2 separate regions of the Homo sapiens genome follow, and region 1 is linked to region 2. The links are contacts of gene promoters, found by promoter capture Hi-C in blood cells and fetal thymus (Javierre and others, 2016). All regions are on one chromosome and are shown on one strand. The core of a region is centred on a gene start or on the middle of the fragment in contact, and the rest is flanking DNA. Distances in the headings are between cores, read along the strand shown. Region 1 holds the start of BOK (BCL2 family apoptosis regulator BOK). Region 2 holds the start of MAB21L4 (mab-21 like 4).

The links. The method cuts DNA at HindIII sites, captures the fragments that hold promoters and counts their contacts. A CHiCAGO score of 5 or more calls a contact.
Region 1: the fragment with the promoter of BOK here is called in contact with the fragment with the promoter of MAB21L4 in region 2 in 5 of 17 cell types (M0 macrophages, naive CD8 T cells, total CD8 T cells and 2 more); the score reaches 6.6 in M0 macrophages.

What each region holds. Positions count from the first base shown.
Region 1 is chr2:241,556,792-241,561,230 of GRCh38, forward strand. It overlaps BOK (BCL2 family apoptosis regulator BOK), which reads left to right and starts at 1,954. Exons shown (of 5, transcript NM_032515.5): 1 at 1,954-2,202; 2 at 2,664-2,912. The coding sequence starts at 2,693. It overlaps BOK-AS1 (BOK antisense RNA 1), which reads right to left and starts at 2,352. Exons shown (of 2, transcript NR_033346.1): 1 at 1,986-2,352. RefSeq lists silencers at 2,617-2,696, 2,727-2,796, 2,847-2,976. The HindIII fragment of the contact is 1,718 bases long and covers 1,478-3,195 here.
Region 2 is chr2:240,894,225-240,898,538 of GRCh38, forward strand. It overlaps MAB21L4 (mab-21 like 4), which reads right to left and starts at 1,932. Exons shown (of 5, transcript NM_001085437.3): 1 at 1,260-1,932. The coding sequence starts at 1,773. RefSeq lists enhancers at 560-1,195, 2,468-3,103. The HindIII fragment of the contact is 9,523 bases long and covers 1-4,314 here.

The DNA of each region.
Region 1 (4,439 bases), core at 704-3,203, 660 kb after region 2:
CTGTGCAGGTTTGTATGAGACTGGTGGTATTTTTTTAACTGTTGAGAAGAATTTCTCAATGAAACCATCTGAACCTAGAATTTTCTTTGTGGGAAGATTTTAAATTACAGATTCAATGCATTTAATTGGTGTAGGACTATCCAGATTTTCTATTTCTTTTAGTGTCAGTTTTGGTAAGTTGTGTATCATCTAAAATTTCAAATGCACTGTCAAAAAGTCCTCCATACTATCTTTTTATCCCTTTAATGCTTGTAGTATCTACAGTGATGTCCTCTTTTTCATTCTTGATAGTGAAATTTGTGTTATCTTTTTTCTTACTCAATCTTTCTGGGGATTTATCAGTTCTATTAATCTCTTCAAAGAACCAATTTTTGGCTTTGTTGATTTTCTCTATTTTTTGCTTTATTCCATTAATTTCTGCTCTTATTTTTATTATTTCCTTTCATCTTTAGTTTTATTGTTCTTTTCTAGCTTCTTGAGTGGAAGCTTAGAGCAGTAATTTTATTTTTCTTTTTCCTTTTTTTTTTTTTTTTTTGAGATGGAATCACACTCTGTTGTCCAGGCTGGAGTGCAGGTGGGATGATCTCTGCTCACTGCAACCTTCGCCTCCCAGGTTCAAGCAATTCTCCTGCCTCAGCCTCCTTAGTAGCTGGGATTACAGACACCTGCCACCACACCCAACTCATTTTTTGTATCTCTAGTAGAGACGGGGTTTTCACCATTTTGACCCGGCTGGTCTCAAACTCCTGAGCTCAGGTGATCTGCCCACCTAGGCCTCCCAAAATGCTGGGATTACAGGTCTGAGTCATTTCACCTGGCCTAATTTTCAATCCTTCTTCTAAAGCTATCAAATTTCCTCTAAGCAGTGTTTTAGTTGCACTGTACAGCATTTGATATGTCTTATTTTTCACTGTTCTTGTCAACATATTTTAATCTTCCACTGTGATTATTGACCCATTGATTATTTAGAAGTGTGACATGTAATTTCCAAGCATTTGCAGATTTTCCAGTAATTTTTCTGTTATTGACTTTTAATTCAGAGAGGACACACTGTAAGATTTCAATCCGTTGAGATTTGCTGAGACTTGTATAAGGTCCATGATATGGTCTATTTCGATAAACATCCTATGTGCACATGGGAAGAATAAGTATTTTATAGTGTTGTACACACGTGAATTAGGCCAAGTTGGTTAATCCTATTGTTCAAACTGTGTGAGGTTGATTCAAGGATAAAGAAATAAACCAGTGGGATAGAGTTCCGAGACACACACACACACACACACACACTCTTCAGCTGATTTATGTTGAGATGTTGGGGACTCCTCCAATTCGGTGGAAAAAAAATGATGCTTTTCAATAAATGATGCCAGGTCAATTGGATATCTACACGAAAAAAAATGAGCTCTAGCCCCGTACCACACCATTCACAATAATTAATATGTAATCAATCATAGATCTAAATATGAGCCCTAAAACAAGCTTCTAAAAGGAAATACAGGAGGATATCCCAATAAAAAGGTACTAACCATAAAGAAAATATTGATAAATTGGACATCACTAAGAGTAACTCCTGTTCATCCAAAGCAAAAGTAAACCACAAAATAGAGGAAGATATTTGCAATAACTTCAATAAATGCGAATCCAATAATCCATCTACAATACAAAGGGCATGCGTCCGGACCAAGAACACGTCTCCAGACTCTGGAAAGAACCTCTACGAACGAAGAAGACAACCCAATTTTCAAATGGACCCCGGGGAACACCCAGGCGGCTGGGGCTGGCTCTAGGTCCCCACTGCTCTGCCTTGCGGGGGCCGCTCCGGCCTGGTCGCCTTCTCCGGGCGCATCCAGGGAACTCGCTCGGTCCTCCTTAAGCGGGGAAGCTCGGAAAGCGTCTCCCCGACTCCGCCCCCAGGGTTGCCTTTCCCTTAGAAGGCCAAGCCCCAAGCCCAGCCTCTCGCCAGCTGGGAGTCGCGCGCTGCCCACCTCGCTGCCCAGGCCCCCGACGCCGCGGCAGGAGCCCCCCAAGAGCGCGGGAAGCCCCGTGGACCTGGCGCTCCCGGCTCGGGCGTGGACGGGGCGGGCGCCGGGGCGGGGCGCGCGTCCTCGCGGGTCTGAATGGAAGGGTCGAGGTCGTCGTCGGCGGCGAGCAGATCCTGAAGCCAGAACTCCACCCCGGCGCCCGCGCCATGCGGCGGGAGAGGTGAGCGCGGCGGGCGTGGCGTCCGTGCCGGGGTGCCCGGGGTGCCACGGGAACGGCGAGGCCGGGGACACGCGCGCAGGACGCCAGCGGCGGAGGTGGGCGGCCCCGGGCCGGGGCGGGGAGGGCCGGGTCCTGGCAGTCGCCGTGGGGGACGCGCTGGGCTGTGCCCTCCGCCCCCGCCGCCCACGCACTCGTCTTCGAGGGCGGGCCCGGCGGCCCCGGAGCAAACCGCCGTCTCCCCGCGGCCCCACCGGTCCCTGGCAGCCTCGGGGAATGTCTGTAGCTGAATTCGGGCTCTGAAAGAAGGTGGCGCTGGGTTTTTAAAGATTTGGGGCACAAAAAACGAGAGCGGACCCGGCGCCGGCTACGGCCCTTCCCGAGGGCCACGCCCAGCCCGGCGCCCCGCGCGCCCCGTTCCCCGCGCCGCCTCCCTCCACCCGGCTGAGCGCTTGTGCCCGCAGGTGCGGCGCCCCCCACCCGCGTCGCCGCCATGGAGGTGCTGCGGCGCTCCTCGGTCTTCGCCGCCGAGATCATGGACGCCTTTGACCGCTCGCCCACAGACAAGGAGCTGGTGGCCCAGGCCAAGGCGCTGGGCCGGGAGTACGTGCACGCGCGGCTGCTGCGCGCCGGCCTCTCCTGGAGCGCGCCCGAGCGTGCCGCGCCGGTCCCGGGACGCCTGGCTGAGGTGTGCGCGGTGCTGCTGCGCCTGGGTGAGTGCGCCCTGGTGGGATCCCCAGCTGCGCCTCCTCCCCTGCTGGGCCGCAGCCTCCCTCCGAGGCCGAGATGGGGGTCCGGCCCAGGGGCGCCCACCCCCTGCCTGGGACGGCCAGGCGCTCGGGACAGGGCCACCCAGGCGGGTGCTCCCGGATCTGCCCTCTCAGGCCTCCCACGCCACAGGCCCCCCCATCAGCTGCCTGCTCAGCCCAGATTTCAGTCATGCTGGCCATAAACAATAGAAAGCTCCAGAAAGAATAATCTATTAGTGGGTGGCTAAGCTTCCACAGTGACCCTTGTTCTCAGCTGGGCACAGAAACCCTTTGTAGGAGCACGTGTCCCGATGTTTATTTTGGAAAACAGATTCTTGCTGTTACTGGCCGAGATCCCGCCCGCTGCCCTCTGGATTCCGAGGCCTCCGAGGCCCCCCCATTGGAAACTGCGCCCACCGGGCTGGGTAGCCAAAACCTCAGTATTCGTTGGTGCTGTGAGGACATCTGGGGGTGCTCGGTTCTGGGGTCACACACGGTCCACTGGCTGCCCCCACCGTCTCCAAGGTCTGGACCCAAGAGGGAGGGACCAGCCCCACTGTGACTGTCCAGTCCCCTCACCACAGCTGGGCTGTGGCCGTCACCTGGGAATGTTTATGTGATGCCCGAAGAGGGCACATGGGGCGCCTGTGGCTGAGCCCGGGAAGGGGAGGTGACAGCATAGGTGAAACTGAATCGGTGGCTCTCCAGGCAGGGGGTTGGAGTCGGAGGGCACGACCCCGTGAGGGGACACGCTGCCTCCTCTCAGGCTGGCGCTGGCATGGGCTCTAGGTGGCCCCTGCCCTTACGTGGTGGGCTGGGCCCAGAGAGCAAAGCTGTGTAGACCTGGCCTGCCCAGGAGTGTGTGTGGGGTGCAGACAGAATCCATGGGGACCAGCACAGAGCCTCCAGGAGGAGGTGGAGTCCCATCTGAGAAGTTCAGAAGGAGGGAGAGGTCTCTGGGTGGGAGCTAGGGGGTTGGTGGGGCTCCATGAGATCCGCCGCCTGCTGCTGCCTCTAGTCGGGCTCTGAGAATGACCCTAGGGGATCCTTTTAGTGGCCTTCTGAAAAGATGATGCCAGACCCCTGGAATGGCTGGGAAGAAGTCCCAGATGTCTAGGGGGACCCCAGAGGGACACAGCTCAGACCTGCATCTGCCCTCACGGCTGCTCAGGGTCAGTCCCTTGAGGCCAGCGCTGTCTCCCTGCCCTTGGGCAGTGCAGACAGGAAGAAGCCCGGGTTGTGTCCCCACCTTCAGTCTGGGGCCAGCCTGCAGCAGCCCCGGAGATCTGTGTTTGGGAGCTGCCGGGTCAGTCCTGGGAATTTCCATGTCGTCCCCCGCCCCCAGCCAGCCTCTCATGGGCTCTGCTCTGCTTCCAGATCTTAATTAATGAGATACAGAGCAGCCTTTATCAGCTGGGATGGTCCGGTCAGCAGCATTACCCTGTTTGCTTTGGCTGGAGAACTGGCCGGGCTGCGGACTCCCAATCCCAG
Region 2 (4,314 bases), core at 682-3,181:
GCTGACCTCACGGAGGACATGAGGGTCAGATGAATACTAGGGAGGTGACTCGAGGCAACAAAGCCCTGTGAGGACTGTGGTGACTCACATGTGACAAATTCTGTTCCAGTCCCCAGTTCCCTTCCAGGACAACCTGACCCCCTGGAGGATGGCTGTACCACTCAGGGTCCCCATCATCCTGGCCCCTGCACAGGCTGAGCCCTGTCCTCCCAGCGACCGTCGCCGTCCAGGCAGCCCCTGCTGAAGGAGCCCTGGGCTCAGACTCACCCTGGACCATATCAACAAGGCCCCAAAGGTGGGCCTGGTGCTGTGGCTCACACCTGTAATCCCAGCACTTTGAGAGGCCCAGGTGGGCGGATCATCTGAAGTCAGAAGTTCGAGACCAGCCTGGCCAACATGGTGAAACCCTGTCTCTACTAAAAATACAAAAATTAGCTAGGCGTGGTAGCCCATGCCTGTAATCCCAGCTACTCAGGATTCTGAGGCAGGAGAATCGCTTGAACCCAGGAGGCGGAGTGAGCCAAGATCGTGCCATTGCACTCCAGCCTGGGTGACAGAGTGAGACTCAGTCTCACAAACAAACAAACAAAAGGCCCCAGAGGAGAGACTGAGGCCAGCCCCTGGTCCACGCAGAAGCCCAGCCTCAGAGCCCACTTGGGGCTCAAGACACCAATAGACAACTCAGCCATAAGCTGATAAGACACGGGCACACACCTGCACACGCATTCACACCCCTGCACTCACGCGCACGCAGGCAGGCACACACACACCCCTCCCACCTGGTGCAACATCATCAGACACTGGAAGTGGGCACGGGATGGCCTCGGGGAGCCTCGAGGTCACAGGCTGTGACTGGCAAGAGAGCCGCCTGCCCAGAGCCGTGTGAGGGACCCTCCTGCAAGGCCACCAGTGAAGCAGCTGCCCCAGACTCCAGCCACTGGACGACTGGCAGCCGTGGAACCCCCGTGCAAACACACACGACACGGAACACGTCATCTGTCTTGTTACAGGCATTTGGAGCTGGAAGACCTAAGTGAGGTCTCCCGACTTCTGTGCCCCAACACACTGTTCACACTTGCACAGTGTCACACACGTGCACACATGCCTGTGCGTGCAGTCACACACAGAAGACAGTCGCCACCCTGTGTGCACGTACATGGCAATCACACACATGTGCACTCACACACTTGCACACAGACACCCACACAGCAGCCCCTCGGTACACGCAGATACGCGTGCAGAGTGGGCTGTGCCTGTACCTGGTGCGATGAGACTGTGGTGCTTGCAGTGTACGATGGCTGCTACCAGCAGGTCCTTGAGGACACACAGGACCTTGCTGGGCACAATGTGTCCACGGCACTTGGCGTCACCCTCCGAGGAGGCAGTGAAGGTATCCTCGGTGGTCCACCGCTCCAGGCCAGCCCCTTCCCTGGGCACACCCAGGTGGCATAATTCAAGGCCATCCTCCGGCTGGGTGGCCTCTGGTTCCTCAATCAGTAGAGCCTCGGCATCCACCCACAGGGGCACCTCCATGTCCATTGGGTCCTCAGAGGAGCGCAGGGCGAACTGGAAGGCCTCCAGGCCACGGGAGTAGTCCACGATGAAGCGGGGGTCCAGGGCATGCACGCGCTCCAGCACCGTGAGCAGCACGTTCTCTGCGCGCTGGAAGTCCTGGGCACGCGGCGCCTCCCGGGACCGGATGGCCTGCAGGTAGTGGTGCCACAGGGGCACCTGCACGGCCATGGCTGAGGTGGGGAGAGCAGGGGCAGGCATCCCTTCAACAGTGGCAGGTGAGGGCCAGTGGCCCCTGAGGAGGACTCCGCAGGCCAGCTGTGCAGATGGGCTGTGAGGAGGCACCTGCCCAGGTGAGCAGCAGGTCTGCAGGTGGGGCCTCAGCTCCCACACAGCAGAATTCCAGAGTGACAGCACAGTGTGGCAGGTGAAATAGCTGAACTATTTAAGGCCTTTGAAGTGGGGGTGAGTCAGTCCCCAGCAATTGGGAATGTCACAGGGGCCATGCAGGGCAGGCGGGGGCTGGGTTTGGTTACCACCCTCCTCCCTCCCTTCAGAAGAGCTCTCTCATCTTAGGCCCAAGGCACGGCCCCTGTCCCAGCCAGGCTTGGGGTCCCTGGAGAAATATTGCCGCTGGACTGTGCCGTCCCTGGGATGGGAGCCTCTGTGTGTTGCTGATGGGCCTCCTTCCACCCTCCTCCCCACAGCCCAGGGGCCGGGTATCTGGATCAGGCCCCCCTGCCCCAGCCTCCCTGCCAGGTTGGAGGGAACACAAGGCACCCCGTGGCTCAGTGAGGAAGGGGAGGCAGGGCGGTGGCTGCCCAGACCCCGCTGTGGGGGAGCCCCCGACTCTCTAAGGCTGCCTGGAAGGCTGGGAACCTGGAGGCTGCGTCTCTGCAATGTTCCCCTCAGACACCTGTGCCCGGCTTACAGGCTGCAGTCCTGGCATGGCTCCTGCCTCTGCCCCAGCTGTGCATCCAGCCATCTGGGCCCTGGACCCCTGGGCTACCAGTCCCCACCCCACCCCACCCCACCCTGCCCAGCCTCCAACCTGAGAGGAGCTGGCACCCACCTAGCCTGGGAGCTGGAGCTCGTCTGGTTCTGGAGAAAAGCAGTCTCCGTGGCTCCACCTCACCCAGGTGGAGAAACTCGCCCCACCATCCCCCTCCAGCACCTGCACCAGGTACCCTGCCAGCCCCGCCCCCCTCCCCTGCTCAGGGCCGTGCAAGTCCCAACCAGCAGGGAGCCGCCCCATCGACCCTTGGCCCTGCCAGCTGGCCGAGTGCATCGGGTGCTCAGCCACAGGGGTGTCTGCAAACAGTGAACATGGAGATGGCCCCACAGGGGCGTCGTGGAGATGCTGCCCCTGTAGCCACCGCACGTGGGCCTCTCACCCCCCGGGGAGCTGCATCTGAGTCAGAGCTGTGGGCAGAACCAGGATCCCAGGAGGGGTGGGGCAGGGGGCAACAGCCACTCACTTCCTGGTGCTTGGAAGCCCCTATGAGGGGCTGCAGCCCAGTGAGCGGGTCTCTGCTTCCATGCCTCCCAGGACAGGGAGCTCACCACCTCACAGGGTAGCCCACGGTCAAGCGAGAGACAGATATCCCTCCTCCAAGCTGGCCCACTCCTGTTCCCTGGAGTTGCTTAGAGCACGTGTCCCCCTCCCCGAGGGCAGCCATTCAGGTTCAAGGCCCCATTTGTCCTGGGCCCTCACCCACGGCCTGCCTAGGTCCCCACACACAGCCGTGTGCCACACTCCTCCATCTCCACAGGACTCTGGCCTGGGGGAGGTGGACGCTGCTGCAGGGCAGCTGGGGTCCTACCCCTCACCCTCGGCCGCAGTGGCCCAGGGAGCTCATCTGCCTGTTCTGGGCCTTGGCTTCAACATCTGTGATTTGATGACACCTTCAGTGTCCCAGCTCCTCCTTCCCAGGAACCTCCCGGTGTTCTGAATTCGCCCAGGAGACCCCCAACCACACCCCAATCTACCCAAAGTGCCCAGGGGCTCTGAGCCATGGGAGGGGCTCGGCTTCTCAGCCCCCAAGCTGCTCCCTCCAGTGGCCACAGAGCAGGGCCCTTCTCCCTCGGGAGCGGCCCCCAGGCTTTGCATCCTCCTTTGCCCCTAAAGCCCCCTCTCCACTGCTGTCAACACCAAGAGCACAAGACCATGTCCCCCCTTTCCTCTCTTCAGCAGGGGATTCCACCTGGCTGACACCCTGTCCTGTCCTTCGCTGGCTCTGGCCTCCTGGCTCCCACCAGTTCCTGAGCTGAATCCAGCTGGTTGCCCCAAGGGACCCCACTCTCTCCACCTGTGCCCCAGCTGAGGTCAGAGCCTCTGATGGGCCAGGCCCCATCCTTGCCCCTTGGCCCTTCTGGCAGGTGGTGAATGACATGGTGAGCTCCCTATGGCTGGAACGGTGTCACACTCCTCAGTGTACCCTAGAGCCAGGCACGATGCCAGGCACACAGGAGCATGTGGAGTACACCAGGGAACTGTGGACAAGCAAAGGTCCCCGGGAAGCTGGACCTGTGGGAGAGAGAGGAGAGCCGCTGCTGACGGAGGGGATGCGGGCACCCGCCCTGGACGGCTGGGCAGCTTTGACCACAAAGGGGCCAAGTGCTCCAGAGGCCTTCAGGCAGCCACTAGCCACAGTGCACCCAGGACTCCAACTCTGACCCCAGGAGGGTAGCGTGGTGAGGGTGGGGAGGGTCAGAGAAACCAGACGTGTCCTGGGGCCTTGGCAACTCAAGAAGGGGTTCCTTGGCACCTGTGGCAACCGCAAATGCTCAGATGGGTGTTGA